3 separate regions of the Homo sapiens genome follow, and all the other regions are linked to region 3. Evidence: promoter capture Hi-C in 16 types of primary human blood cells and fetal thymus (Javierre and others, 2016). All regions are on one chromosome and are shown on one strand. The core of a region is centred on a gene start or on the middle of the fragment in contact, and the rest is flanking DNA. Distances in the headings are between cores, read along the strand shown. Region 1 overlaps GNA12 (G protein subunit alpha 12). Region 2 has its middle 21 kb from the start of GNA12. Region 3 holds the start of AP5Z1 (adaptor related protein complex 5 subunit zeta 1).

What was found. Contacts are between HindIII fragments. The CHiCAGO score rates a contact against its expected background, and 5 or more counts as called.
Region 1: a fragment that was not itself captured here is called in contact with the fragment with the promoter of AP5Z1 in region 3 in 2 of 17 cell types (M0 macrophages and M2 macrophages); the score reaches 5.6 in M0 macrophages.
Region 2: a contact is called between a fragment that was not itself captured here and the fragment with the promoter of AP5Z1 in region 3, in 1 of 17 cell types (erythroblasts). The highest score is 5.5, in erythroblasts.

The regions. Positions count from the first base shown.
Region 1 is chr7:2,801,391-2,804,199 of GRCh38, forward strand. The region is part of intron 1 of GNA12 (G protein subunit alpha 12); the gene reads right to left. Among named protein-coding and RNA genes, the nearest start is that of GNA12, 42 kb to the right of the region's middle. The HindIII fragment of the contact is 2,019 bases long and covers 266-2,284 here.
Region 2 is chr7:2,863,713-2,866,533 of GRCh38, forward strand. No RefSeq gene overlaps it. Among named protein-coding and RNA genes, the nearest start is that of GNA12, 21 kb to the left of the region's middle. RefSeq lists an enhancer at 1-126 and a silencer at 904-983. The HindIII fragment of the contact is 683 bases long and covers 1,111-1,793 here.
Region 3 is chr7:4,774,288-4,777,127 of GRCh38, forward strand. AP5Z1 (adaptor related protein complex 5 subunit zeta 1) reads left to right here and starts at 1,336. Exons shown (of 17, transcript NM_014855.3): 1 at 1,336-1,469. The coding sequence starts at 1,429. RefSeq lists enhancers at 78-754, 755-1,431, 805-854, 895-984, 1,415-1,484 and 2 more and a silencer at 1,165-1,294. The HindIII fragment of the contact is 11,700 bases long and covers 1-2,840 here.

The DNA of each region.
Region 1 (2,809 bases), core at 25-2,524, 2.0 Mb before region 3:
ACTTACGAAGACTGCAGGACTGCACACACCAGGCCTTCCCCAACTATCAGGGTGAACATAGGTTTGGCTTAAAAACACACACACGCAAAACTGGCCCATGCAACAGCAGTCTATTCCCACCGCACAATCCGCCCAAGCAGGCTGGAGCTGGTCCAAATGAACTGCACCCAACCACAAGAAAAGACTCCTCCTTTCCCTTTTTCAAAACACAAGAAAGGTGGCTAAACTACTGATGAGCTTTGAACAGTTAAGTAGTAGTTTTGTAAGCTTTGTAGTTACAGTCCATTTTCCCTTCCTTTGAAGGAAAAAAGGCATTAAAAAAAAAAGATGTCTCTCTTTTGCCCTTTTACATTTATTCTAGTCAAAAACTGCTCTCTGCCAACTTTGTTCTGAAAATCCACATCTGAGTTCCAGCGAAGTTTTCTACTTGGGGACATTTGGCTAAATTCTGAGTCCCCTTTTCTTCCTTTTTAGAGAGAGACGTAAGCTCTCTCTGGAGTTTAAAGCCTGTAACAATAATGTATTTACCGTACTTTTGCAGAACTGATAGTTACACTTTTACCATTGTTATATAGAATTGCTAAAGTCTTAAAAGTAAAATACTAGTATAGGAGGCATATTATAATAAACCTCTTACTCCTGTCCTTTTCCAATGAAAGACCAATTTTCTAAAACACAAAAGCCAAGAAAATCCTAAAACTCACATACACTTAAAATAAATAAGAACGACAACTCATTCAAGTCTCTTTAATAGCTAAGAGAAAAATCCTTTTTTCAGTAATGGTATTACTGAAGTATTAATTGTTTGAATAACCATACATTTTATTTGGTTACCCAAATATAAACGGTTAAAGTCTCAAGCAGTTTGATGACTTCATCTCAATACAATGTCACACTTCAAACTGTTCAGACAGCATATTTTTAAGACAACTTATAAATCCAGCAACTTAAACTTCTAGTCAAAGTATAGATTCCCTCTCTGCTGGGGATGTAGATTTTTTTTGGGGGGGTGGGGGGTGGGGTTCAATTTTGCTGGATGAAGACCAAAAACTGCAAATCCTGTTATCTCATTTCAAAATAGATTATGTTAGTTTAGCCCCTAATCAAACCAAATCTTTTAAGATTAGTCATTCCTTAGTAAAATCTTCCCACAATAAATACCAAAGCTACGATAGACATAAAATGCTTTAAGATAATATGAGCCTTTTTCTACAAGATGAAACAGTTCCATTAAGACAAACTGAAGATTCTGGATGTTCACTCGGGCAACAGCATGTGGACTTGGAAAGCTCTGTTTTTTAAAAACCCACTCGGCTGAGTTGTTTGCCTTTGGCCACCATCCAAATAAAAGAAACGCTGCCAGAAGTGTAAACAGGATGCATTTCTTTACATTGATGAATCCAGCAAACAAAGACAGCGCCTCTTAGTTCCTCTCGAAAACTGAAGTGCAAGATACCTTTTAGTGTAAAGGTCAGCGAGAAACTGACGAAGGGAGGCAGTAAGCCGTCAAACCAGCCATCAGAGCCTCTGCCATTTCACAGCGCAGCCCTGGCCCCACCATAACTCCGCGGATTTGCCTTCCGCAACAAATGCACTGCCGTACGGGATCAGGCCTATTATTTCTCTAAGAAAGCCCCCTCTTGGCTCTGCCAGTGACTATACCGAGGGCTCACCTCAGGCAATGAAAAGTGGTGGGTAACGAATGGGGAAAACCCAAAAGGCGGTAAACTTGGCTCCTGCTATGGGAGAACTTTCAAAACAAGCGTAGCAGCAAGACAGAGCACGAGCAGATAAGCGACAGTCTCAGATGCAGAGTACAGAGGCCAGCCCCATAACTGGAAGGACAGGACCGTCGGAGGACAGCCAGAATCGCCACCGCTGGTGAGGCCTCGCTCACAGACAGGCTGTGGAGAGCTAAGAAGTCTGTGTGAGAAAGGGGACGATCGAGGGCTTTGGAAAAGGAGAATGGCAAGGTCTGAGGCTGCCTGCAGGTCCCGTGGCAGGTGGGACAGGAGGCAGGGAAGGAGCAGCTAAAGCAGGAGAGTGATCAGGAGCCCCCTAAGTGCTCTCACCCCAAGTGCTCTCAATAAAAGATGGAGAGATCCAAAACCAGGAATTCACCAAACCTGCAGAGCACGGAGAGCAGTGAGGGCCCTGTTGTGTAAGCACAATACCCACCAGTTCTCCCAAGTCAGGTCCACAGGAGGGGATGGCTTAGAAGGGGTGACATTTAGGTAGGTTTTCAACAAATTTAGTTCAGTTGGACAGTGGGAAATCCAAGCTAAGCTTCTCAAGAGGAGATGGAACTGCAGAGAAAACTCTGGGTTTAGGAATGGCATAGGAGAAGCAAATTATCATCATTAGCTTTTTTCAGCTGCCTTGAAAAGGTTTTCCTAAAAGTCCAAAACAAAACAAAACAAAACAAACAAACAAAAAAACAACTCCAAACCAATCCAGATTTCCCCAGATCTCCTGAACTGGAAAGTGAAAATCCAGGGCTCCATTTCAAAACTCACAAGCCAGCAGGCTGGAAACTCCTGGAATCATCTCCCCAACCCCCACCCGCCAGCCATGGCCATGGGCAGACCAACTTCTTCCTCTCCTGTTCTTCCAGGGGTCAGGATAAGTCTCGGAATCTCCCTTCACTAAAAATTTCACTACATGACAAACACTAGTACAAGGGGGAACGAAATCGTCCTCTTAAGTACAGAAAAGATCAGCAAAACTTGAGAACACAAACACACAAAATATCATTCTAAGGGGGAAAAGCTTGCACACACTATCAACAGGTAACAGCTTCATGTGCTAA
Region 2 (2,821 bases), core at 202-2,701, 1.9 Mb before region 3:
AGACGCTGGGCACCGAGCCTCCTCCAGGCCCGGAGAACGAGCCTGTAGCCTGTCGCTGTTTGCTGAGGGCCCTGACCTCTGTGGGAACACACAGGAAGTGGTTCATTTTCTCCCCACCAGTGACTCACTCCCGTCAGCCCTGCCCTTTCCAATCTCTGCTTCCTGTCCCTTAGCCTCAGCTTGGGTAATTCTGGGCAATAGAAAGGCCAGTCTGGTTGAGTCTGAAACTGCCATCTCACATGCAATTTCGCACTCATCTTGTCCCCCACTGAAGGGCTGGCTTAGCCTTGGCCGGAGAGCCCTGGAGAAGGAGGGGAGAGGTCGGGGGGACTGGCTGCGGTCCTTCCTCTTTCTCCTGGCTTCTGGGGTTGGGAGGGGAAGAGGAGGAAGAGGAGGAGGAGGAGAAGGTCTGGAGTGTCGGCACAATAGTAATATCAATAACAATAGCAGCTAATATTTACTGCAAGTGGTTCTCTGGGTCTGGAGATGCTCCAAGCACTTTTCTGACCGTAAGTTATGGCATTAAGTTTTGTAACTAGGAGGTAGGTCCTGTAATAAGGTCCTGTTGTAATTCCCATTTTTCTCTGTTGAGGAAACAGGCTGAGACAAGGTAGGTAATGTGCCCAAGGCCACAAAATTAGGAGGTGGCAGAGTCAGGATTGGAACCCAAGGTCTTCCTGATTCCACATCCGTTGCCCAGTCACTCCACTGCCTCACTTTCGCAAGAGTCCATATAAAGTTCCTGAGGTTGGGGCCTGGGACCTGTGGCAAGGTAAGTGTCCAGGGATTCAGCTAAGATGAGGCTTACACTTTTTTTTTTTTTGATAGAGTCTCTCTCTGTTGCCCAGGCTGGAGTGCAGTGGCAAGATCTCAGCTCACTACAACCTCTGCCTCCTAGGTTCAAATGATTCTCCCACCTCAGCCTCCCGAGTAGTTGTGACTACAGGCATGTGCCACCACGCTTGGCTAATTTTTCTATTTTTTGGTAGAGACGGGGTTTCACTGTCGGCCAGGCTGGTCTCAAACTCCTGACCTCAAGTTATCACCCCGCCTCGGCCTCCTGAAGTGTTGGGATTACAGGCGTGAGCCACTGCGCCCGGCCTGAGATGAAGCTTATTGAGGGTACTGAGAAAGATTTTTGACTCAATTTCTGAACCTTGTGAATTCTCACAGCACTTAACAGTAAGGAATTATCTGATATTTACATGCTTGTTATCTGCTTTCCTCATTAGGATGCAAACTTCATAAAACCATTTTGTTCATCTCTTCCTGATACCTGGTATGCGCTCACTAAATGCTTGGGAACGTGAATGAATGAATGAAACGTCTTCTGACGTGATCCTTGTATCTACATCTCCTTGCTGCGGCCAAGTCTCAGGTGCACCCTGAGCTCAGTGGTGGTCTTGCCTTTGCCCAGAGTGGGATGGGGTCCAGGTGGGGTGTCCCAAGCAGCCTGAAGAACATGACTCGAAATTCCCATCTGTGACCACCAGGTGTCGCTCATGCCACACAAGGAAACCCATAGATGGCCTCTGCTGAATTAGGGGTGCAGCGGGTGGGGAAATCTCATCTGTGACCACAGATGAGTTATCCAGGCTGCCATTTGTTCTCATTAGGTCCTGGATTTCCTCCTCAGAACCAGACAGATGTGATCAGCATTGTGGGCCGAGGGCCGGCACCTCCCCACCTCCCCGGCTATGGGTAGCTGTAGGGTGTCAGGGAGGGGATGCTGGGGTTCAGGCCCCGGATTCCATCCAGCTGCAGCCGTGTCACTGCCACTCCTCCTGCCCCCAAGCTTTGGCCTTGGCTGCCCAGGTAAGGCTGGCCCGGCACAGCCATTCATCAGTGTCAGCCGCCAGATGCCCCTCACAGGGCTCCCGTCCTCCGGGAACACTCCCAGGCCCCTAGCAACAAACTCAGCTTCCTGCCCTCATGGCACCGGCATCTTCCCCACTCCTTTTGCCGGGGTCTAAGTTTGGGGTGCATGCTTCCAGCCCCAGGAGCCCCCTCAATATCACACTGAGGTTGACTTGGCCATTTCTGCTTTCAGCCAACATAACCGGGTTCTAGAAGCTTCCTGACCGCTGTGGGAGGGTCACTTGGCCAGCAGGCAAGCGTTTCTTATTCCATGTACTTGAGTGAAGCAAAACCAGGGCTGTGTTTTTTTCCTTTTTTTTTTCTTTCTTTTTTTTTTTGAAACCAAGTCTCTCTGTCGCCCAGGCTGGAGATAACAGGTGCCCACCACCACGCTCAGCTAATTTTTGTATTTTTAGTAGAGATAAGGTTTCACCATGTTGGTAAGGCTGGTCTTGAACTGCTGATCTCAAGTGAACCACATGCCTTGGCCTCCCAAAGTGCTGGGATTACAGGTGTGAGCCACCACGCCTGGCCCTTTTTTCTTTTATTTGAGACAGGGTCTCGCTTTGTTGCCCAGGCTGGAGTGCAGTGGTGGGATCACAGCTCATTGCAGCCTCAACCTCCAGGGCGCAAGCGGTCCTCTCACCTCAGCCTCTTGAGTAGCTGGGACCAGAGGTGCTTGACACCACACCTGACTCATTAATTTTTTATATTTTTTGTAGAGACGGGGTTTTGCCATATTGCTCAGGCTGGTCTTGAACTCCTGAGCTCAAAGGATCCTCCTACCTTAGCCTCCCAAAGTGCTGGGATTACAGGTATGAGCCACTGTACCCGGCTAGGACTGTGTTTTTCTGTGACCCAACCTAATCGTTATTTCCAGCCCCTTTTCAGACTGATGATGGAAAATGTCATCTTGGCCAATTCCAGATGAACTTGGTCATTTAAGCTCAATTCTGAGCATTCC
Region 3 (2,840 bases), core at 86-2,585:
TCTCAAAGCCATGTTTGGAACTCCTGCAGGAAGCCCTCCCTCCTCCTCCTCCTTCCTTCCATCCAGGGGTCTTCTCGGGGCTTATCCCTTCAAGGCCTAACCTTGACCCACCCTATCTACGCAACATTGATTCCCACCCCTACCCTATTCCCCAGAACCTTCAGCAGTGCCTAGCGCAGCTAGGACTCAATCATCGCTTGTCCACTTAATGAATGACTCTTGGCACAAATTTCCTCGTCCTTTTCTGCCCCAGACAGACACCCCACAAACATGAAGTTACCCTTGATTTTTCCACTTTCTTCCTCCTGCCTGCAAATTCCTCAATCACAGGTGGTGCAAATCCTACCTCTAAATGGTACTGAATCTGCCTACTTTCGGGGCAACCTCCCTTACCTGGACCACAACTGCACCAGCCTCCTTTCTCCCTCAGGAGCTTCCCAATCCATTATCTCCCCTGCGGCCAGAGATCAGTTTCCTCCTGGGGTGCATTTAAGCCATAGGAAGCAGATCGCTACCCTAGGCCCGTCCCTCCCCACCCCTTGGTCTGGACACCCTCTGGGCTCATCTTAGGCCGCAGTCGCCGAAGCCTTCCTCCTCCGGTTGGACCCCCAACCAGGTCAGGCTGTCATAGCGTTTATCATGACGCTGGCGTGTCGCCCTGTGTCCCTCGGCCGTCTGCAGGATGGCAAACTTATGGCCAGGGCCCAGCACATTTGGGCACCCAACACATCCGTTAGAATGAACAGAAACTTCCCCTCTCCGAGCCTGTGGCCTCATCTGTAAAACAGAGATCGCGAGATCCCATGAATACCGTGGGGATTGAATAAGGGATTTTTTCGTTTCAAGCAGCAGGAACAGCGCGGGATGGGTGCTCAATAAATGGGAGCTCAAAAAATCCCCAAAACTGCCCAGAGCCGCGGCTATTCCTTGCAAACTGCTGGACACTGCTGGGCTCAGCCCACAAGTGTCGGAGTTTGCATCAGATTTTCAGGTCGTACTTAGCAAAGGGACTCCCGCACGACAAAGCTGTTTACGAAACAGAAACCAGAACTGGGGCAGTGACACTTTGGGGCCAGCAATGCCCTCTCCCAAAGCCCCAGGCGCCCAATTTCCGCCGAAATGCTTTCCGGGGTCGAAGGGCGCCGGGGCTCCAGAGTGCCGAGGTTCCGGGGTCGCGCGATTCCGCAGCTCCCAGGCGCCGACCCGGACCCCCGGCCGCGGCACCTACGCCCCGCCCCAGTCGCTCCACGCCAAAGCCCATTGGTCGGCAACCTGTCCCTCCTGCTCATGTGATGCGGCACGTGACGCAGCCACGTAAGGCCGCTGCGCTCACGTGACGCGGTCCCGGAAGTTGACCGGGGTGCGGAGCTCCTGGGCTGCAGCTCCTGGAGTTTCCGAGGTTCGTGCGCGTCTGGTGGCGGCGGCGTGATGTTCTCGGCAGGAGCGGAGAGTTTGCTCCACCAGGCCAGGTACGGGGGAGCTGCGGCCCCGGCCCTCCTTCCTGCATCTCTCCCTAGGGGCACACGGGGGTGGGTCTCACAGGGCAGGGGCTTGGGCGCCAGCCTTGCAGGAACCCGACTGGACTCGCCCTCGAGACTTGGGGATCGGGTAAGGCAACACGGCGGCCAGGCTTGGGGTGAGGAGGTCGGGGAGGGTCATGGTGGGTCCCCGGAGGAGGTGACACTTGAGCAGAGTCTTGGTGAGTGAAAGCAAGTGGGGTGGGACCCAGTCGACAGTTTAGTCAAAGGCTTGGCGGTGAGAACTCCGCGTCTGGCAGGAAATCGGGCAGCCGGGAGATTTCAGTGCCTCACAGTCAAGAACGCAAAGTCACAGTGTCCGGAGGCCTGCTAAGGAATAAGGCTGTGTGCCAGGCTGGGGAGCTGGAGGCCATCCGAGGGCTTTGCGGAACCGTGGGAGGGTTTTGTGACTTAAAAAGATCTCTCTTGCGCGGATGTATTAGCTAGGCTGAGAAATCACCCTCCAGGCTGGTTTCAGGCTGTGTCTGGACTCCCAGTAACGAGTGAGTAGCTCCTTCCTCACCAACTAACCAGTCATGGGGGAAAACAGTGTAAGCCAGGACTGAACAGACTCACGGTCCACCAAACAGGCAAAGACTTCATACTACATGTTTAAAAGAAGAAAATGCTGACCGGGCGTGGTGGCTCACGCCTGTAATCCCACCACTTTGGGAGGCCAAGGCAGGCGGATCACCTGAGGTCAGGAGTTCGAGACCAGCGTGCCCAACATGAGGAAACCACGTCTCTACTGAAAATACAAAAAAAAAAAAAAAAAAAAAAATTAGCCGGGCGTGGTGGTGGGTGACTGTAATCCCAGCTACTCGGGAGGCTGAGGCAGGAGGATTGCTTGAACCTGTGAGGTGGAGGTTACAGTGAGCTGAGATGGCGCCACTGCACTCCAGGCTGGGGGACAGAGCGAAACTCCGTCTCAAAAGAAAAAAGAAAAAAAGTAAAGAAAATACAGCCAGCACTACAGCCCCTTGGTAAACGTAAACAAACTTGGTGAGGTGAGAGGCCGAAGCAGGAGAAGTGCATGAACCCAGGAGGCCGAGGGTGCAGTGAGCCAAGATCGCACCACTGGACTCCAGTCTGGGTGACAGAACGAGACTCCATGTCAAAACAAACAAGCAAACCTGGACTCAGAGCTAGACCAATTGGTGGGAAAGATTCGGGTGGTTGAAATTGCTGTGATTATAGTGAGTGAGGTCTTGAAGGCAGGTTAAGTTCTAAAGCCCGAACAGGACAAAAATCTCTGATCAAAATAACCCTTAAGAGTCCACTCATTAGGAAGAGGCTTGGTGAATATGCAGCACCATCTCCCAG